Regions from separate parts of the Homo sapiens genome. Here region 2 is linked to region 1. The links are contacts of gene promoters, found by promoter capture Hi-C in blood cells and fetal thymus (Javierre and others, 2016). All regions are on one chromosome and are shown on one strand. Each heading gives the region's core, a stretch centred on a gene start or on the middle of the fragment in contact. The rest is flanking DNA. Distances are from core to core; before and after follow the strand shown. Region 1 holds the start of EVX2 (even-skipped homeobox 2). Region 2 overlaps LINC01117 (long intergenic non-protein coding RNA 1117).

Region 1 (2,959 bases), core at 390-2,889:
GCGCCAGAGCCGGAGCCACCCAGCGCCGCGCTCCCGCCGCTGCCTCCGCTGCCTCCATGCAGGCTTCCGAGGCCTGAGCCCGACGCCGACGTCGTGGTGCCGGCAGCCGAGCCGCTCTCTGCGTACCCTGGCAAACAAACGACCAACAGCGCATGAGTGGCTGTAGGACCAACAGCCCGGCGCTGGCGCTGCGCGCGGATCGGGGAAGCCCCGTCAGGAAGGAGAGTCGCTGCCGGAATTGATGGGGTCTGTCATGCTTACAAATTGCTGCCGTTAATGGAATCAATAAAGTTTGGGGAGCCCTTCATAAGCAAATAATAGAAACGGAATTAGGAGATTTCTTTTTTAATAATTAGAAATTTTCAACCAAGGAGGAAAAGTGGCCGAGGGAAAATGCCTACCTCTGGGCGCAGTTTGGGAAGCTCTGGGTTTCCCATGGTCTGGAGACCGCAGGGCAGCTTTTTATACGGCCTCTAACCTTTATCTGAGTCTTCGGGGTTTCAAATATTTTAAGAGTTCCAACACAGCAGTAGCTCAAACCCAAGCCAATAGGGGGTGAAATATACTTTTCAACTCTTTCTCCCGCTGACCTAAACAGAGACGCCGGCGAGGCTTCCTCCGACTTACCCAGAAGAATGCCCCCTCCAGCCCTGAGGGCACAGGGGCAGGGGAGTTCAGAGTAGTTGCCCAGGGTACCTTTCCCAAAAGCAACTCGGCTGCTGACTAGGGGTCTACCGGCTCGCTCGGGCTCTTAGACACGAGCGCAGAAACATTTTCTCGGACTCAGGAGCGAGGGCGGGTGGGCCTGGTGTTCCAGGCTCCGCAGGCCTGAGCCTGGCGGGAAAGCTCAAGGAGCAGAACTGGAAGGCACGGTCCCAGACATGCGTCCCGCCCCCGCCCGTGCTAGCTCGGTGTAGCTTGCCTGTGGAGGGTCTGAGAGGGGAAAAGGCACCGGGAAAGGCTGGCGGGGGCCGCGGAGGAGCAAAGAGGATGGGACTGGAGAGCGCGGTGCGGCCGGCGCGGTTACCTTTGCCATTGTTTTCCTTAAGCTGAGCGGCGCCGAGGCCCCCGGGGGAGCGAAGCGCGGAGCAGCCCACCTCCACGTCGCTGCTCATGTCGGCCTCAGCGGCCGCCTCTGAATAATGGCCCGGCTTCTTGCGGCTCTCGGCGGCGGAGGAGATTTCGGAGGAGACGGTGCTTTCGCTGCCCGTGTGCTGCAGGTTGAACAAAGTGTCTATTTCGAATTTGCCCTTGGCGGGGAGTTCTCCCAGAGCGCTGTGCAGGGGGGCAGACGGCAGGCGCGGGCTTAGGCGAGCCGGGTGCTGCGAATTTTCCAGGGCCTCGAGCACAGCATTGCCAGCCGAGTTGGACAAATTGGAGAATCTCTTGCCCGCCGTAGGGCTGTGCAGCCCTCTCTCCATCAGAATCATCTCTTTTCTTATTCTTTCCATCATCTCAGCTTTCTTAAAAATGTCACAGTGGCCCTGCTGTCCCGTCCTAATGATAGGCTGCGCCTAGGGCTAATTCTCATTCAGCCCCAGCGAACGCCTCTAAATATTATTATCGCTTTCGGAGGGAGGCGGAAAAATTGTGGGATGCCAGAGCGAGGGAATGACTGGTCAAAATGACCCATACATCCTTCCGATCCCGAGATGTCATTCATCAAAAAGTAGCGCCCGCTCGTCATTAAGGTACGAATGACGCTGTTCGAATAATCATTTATTGTAACAGGTTTATAAGCAAATAAATACACCCTCCTGTCAGTGGGTAATGAAGGCAGCTTCAGAGCAGACAAATAGATCCAGGTAGGAGGCGAGAAGAGACAAGTGAGGAGGAAGGCTCCGGTCCTTTGCCCGCTCCGAGCCAGTTCTGCTCGCCCGGGGGTTTGGCCTCGGGGGTGAAATTGACAGTCTGATTAATAGAGCGCGCCGCGGCACATTTCCCCCTTCATTTAGGGGCATCATTACGCTCTCAGTTTGCTAGGTTGCCCCTTAGGTCCTAATCATGCAGCGCCTTCTTCATTTTTCCTTGGACACAGATACGTATTAAATAATAGATAATGGTTTGACTTTCCAGAGTAGGTCCTCGGGAAGGTTTGGTTTTTTTTTTTTTTTTTTTTTTTTTTTTTACCATTTACAAGCTGGGGGCATAAGTGGGGGGAGATAAGGGGGAGGATGCAGGAAGAGTTGCGTAAGGAGAAGACCTTGCGCCTCTCCTATCTGGATTACTTATCTTTCGGATTTCGGAACCAAATATGTATTTTATTTAACAAATAGGACGCCGGAGTTCTTTCCCTCCCTATTTCTTCACCTCAGCCTAAATGCTCTCCTCCCACCCCGGGAGAGAGAGAGAGCGGAAGAGAGGGAGAGAGGGAGAGAGGGAGAAAGGGAGAGGGAGACGGAGTGAGAGAAAGAGAGAGAGAGAGAGAGAGAGAAATAGAAATATCCTAGAGTTTTGAAAGCGCTTTCTTGCTACGTGGCCGCGGAGGTGCATTGGGCCCGCGCCTCCAAACGGAAATCATTAGGTCCTCTCTGATTTTCTAACACCGTCTGCAGAGTGAGATCTGAACTCGAAGTCCCCGGTTTTTTACTTTTATAATCCTGCTGATAGAAAGCCTTCTCGCCTACGCATTTTCCTGAGGGGAAACGAACTAGGCTGGACGATTTGATAGCAGAATTCGACAGCTAACTTTAAACACAGTGGAGATTTACAGCGCCATACGGGCGCTCCGAATCCACGCTCACGTTGCCAGATTTTCCCCTCCCTCCTCAAATAGAATTATTTGCGGCAAAGGCGCTGGATTTCGAGGTCAAAAGAGGAAAGAGGAGACAGCCTTCTTCCCCTACCTCCCCGCTGCCCTCCCTTCCCCTTTGCTTTTCTTCCTTCTCTCTTTCCTCCCCTCATCAACCCCAGCCCCTTACCTGCGGCCACAGGTATTCCCAGCGTTGGGTCCGGGCGC
Region 2 (3,078 bases), core at 513-3,012, 570 kb after region 1:
CATGTAAAGTAATTTCTACTGGAGCCTTTTTTTTGCCTCTGTAATCTAAACATTAAAGTATATTGAAGTCTTTAGTCAAAGACTGGCATTTGGCACTGGGTGTCCAAACATTTCCCGCTGGGCCCTCAACCACTAACAAGCTTTTTGTTTGGATAGAAGAGAAAGGGGAGAGTAAGGAGTTGAGCTGGCTAACTCTTGACATCTGAAATCTTTATCAGTCACAACGACTTTTTTGGTTTGTGTTGATGATTTGTGGTATTGTTGTTTATCTGTATATCATTCACTTGGACTCGCTGTTTAGATGCAAAGATCTCAAGACCATCTGCAGTCTTGATGGGTAGTTGTAGCAGCCCGACCAGACATCTGGCTGTCAGTTATAATTGCATTCCTGCTCCTAAAGTTGTTGTTAGATACTCCTGATTCCCTTTGAATGTATTACCGTGATGCACCACCGTTTCAGGCCATTGATGTGAGAGACCGAGTTAATTCCTGGCTTTCGTCTGGCTAGAACCAAGATTTATAAAATGAACAGAACTATCCATTTTGCTGGAAGTGTGGCTGTTTTTGTCTGCATTAGGTTTAATGATGCATCAGTTTCTTCTGCAGCCTATACAACTGATTCTTTGAACATGGAGAGAAATAGTGCATCCGAAAACTATTTTCATGGTGTTGCCATGTTTACTATTTCCTGTTGTCTTTGCCTGAAAGTGTTTTAACAAAAATTAGGGTAGAGCATACAAACATTTGAGGCAGGGGATGAAAGGAGTTGTTATTATGTTTCCTTTCCAGGTTAATGTGGTTGCCTTTGATTTAAGCACTACATACTTAGGACAGGATATGACACCAATTAAAGACATGAAACTTAATTTTTGGACTAAACAATCACATAATCCTTCTTCTGGTATCTGGTTGAGGTTTACTGACATGGCATTTATTTCTCAGTCACAATCCTAAATTTATTGGGTTGGCTTTACTTAAGGTACATGGGGCAACTAATATTAGTGCATGTAAAAACCTAGCAATGTCCTAAATTGTAAAGGAGCTATTATAAAGAGAACATATTTTTTCCCGATGACTGTCAACATGAGATCAAGAATGCATGCAAACTCACTCCATGAGCCCTGGGCTCACTCATCTTGGTTGGAGGCAGATTTTGATTTAAGATCTAAATTTCAAAAAATGAAAATCAATTTTATCTCATAAAGTACAACAGGGAAAATTTTTACTAATAACCTCTCCTTAGCCTTAAATTTAAATTACATTTTTGTCAAGAGAATTTTAGTATTTATTGAAAATCAAGTTTAGATAATAATCACAAAATAATGCATTAATCGTTTAAAAAGATAAAAAGTAATGTACTGTTTGTGGGTAACACATTTAAATAATAAAATTGAATATTAGTGTTTAATTTTAGTACAAAAAATAATTAAAATGAAGGCATGCAAATATAATGAGCCAGGTTAACCTCCCCATCTTTCCACTTTGACACCTTGTTTAACTCTAGCTAATGATGCTATGAAAAAAAGTATTAGTGGTTTCAGTTCAGCCCCTGGTGGTCTATATCACATATTGCATAACCTGCTGGTGGGTCTTACGGGCTATTTCTCATTTACAGACAGTAGCCTTTTATAATTCTGTCTGGAAGTGGGGGATTGCAGAGGGAGGGTGCCCTGTTTTAACCTATTTATTATGCACTTGAAAATACTGAAAATGTTTATAGAAGTCAAATTAAATTTTGTAAAACACATTAGTGCATTCATATGTTCAAACCTGAGCCTACAATTCTATACCAACTACTCACGTAAAGTCATTATGTGGAAAAGAAAAAAGTCACTTATGGCTTCTACTCCATGTGGAAAATTACCAAAGACTGCAGTTTTTCTAACCACGAATGGTCTCATTTCCCATGTGCAGTTGGTTAGCTCCTCACTGTATCCCCAAGGAGTGCGTGAGTCTGAAGCACTGCAGAAAAATGAGAATTTTCACACTTTAAAAGAGCCAAGGCAGCATTTGTAATGACTAAAAATAAGAGCAGAAGAAGTAAAAGAGGAAAGAAAGATTGGTCCCTGGTTTTCCTTCCCCTCTGTTAAGCGAGACCATGGAGTTTCCAGGTGAAAGTCAATTGTGGGCTTGCTTTTAATTTATACAGGACGTTAGGAAAGAAAAAGAAAGAAAAAGAATACCAACTCCCTTAAATTTCCTAGCTCAAAGTTGCTTGCAGTGAATGCTAAAATGAAAGGAGTTATCAAGGCCAAATTCACTATACAGCTTTTGCGAACTGTTAGAAGCAATTTCCAGGACCTGTGCTTTTACATAGGTTTGCTTTCACTCTCAGCTTGAGTGTTAATTTTTGACTAGTTCTTTCTATCCTTTCGTCAAATGTACACATCCATTTCTTCCGGCATCTCATACACACACTGCACACCACACACACACACGTGCATTATATACATAAGCAAATACCTCTAGCCACTTGGTAACAGTATTTTAGAAAGCAGCTTGATATCTGGATTAGAGAGTTGAATACTTTCAGACAACTCTCGTGGGCACAATGTGTTAACTGTTTTCTGTGCCACCATTTTATTGTATGCGAGCGGATGGCAAAATGGTGGTTCCAGCTTTTTGTTGTATAAGGACTCCTTCGCATTCAGCCTCTGATTGAAGAACCAGTTTGTATACCGATAGAAAAGCCAGGCTTCTCAGTCTGGGAGACTGACTAAATAAACCATATACGCAAATCTTCTTCTACTCACTGCTTTGCAGACGCTTAACCAAAATTTTGCATATATAAGTACAAAGGGAGCAAATCCTGATTAAAATAAAAAATGGACAGAAATGATATTCCATTTAAATATATAATTCAATGGTGTTGGTAAATACATATGTTATTAAAAGACCTTCCAACGTTGCCATAAGTAAACTACCTTGAGAAAAGGTCCAACACAGAGTTAGCGTAGAGAATGTGAATGTTTTACTTGTGCATAAACGATCTTTCCAGATCAAGGTCGAGGTCATTGGCAAGATAGTTTAGTGAGCTCATTCTACAGTTATTTGCACATGCAAATTGGGGTTCCAATT

Evidence for each region. Contacts are between HindIII fragments. The CHiCAGO score rates a contact against its expected background, and 5 or more counts as called.
Region 2: a fragment that was not itself captured here is called in contact with the fragment with the promoter of EVX2 in region 1 in 3 of 17 cell types (fetal thymus, total B cells and naive B cells); the score reaches 7.4 in fetal thymus.

Annotation. Positions count from the first base shown.
Region 1 is chr2:176,082,323-176,085,281 of GRCh38, forward strand. EVX2 (even-skipped homeobox 2) reads right to left here and starts at 1,640. Exons shown (of 3, transcript NM_001080458.2): 1 at 1,028-1,640; 2 at 1-127. The coding sequence starts at 1,454. RefSeq lists an enhancer at 399-1,014. The HindIII fragment of the contact is 15,744 bases long and covers 1-2,959 here.
Region 2 is chr2:176,648,751-176,651,828 of GRCh38, forward strand. The region is part of intron 2 of LINC01117 (long intergenic non-protein coding RNA 1117); the gene reads left to right. Among named protein-coding and RNA genes, the nearest start is that of LINC01117, 13 kb to the left of the region's middle. The HindIII fragment of the contact is 3,248 bases long and covers 139-3,078 here.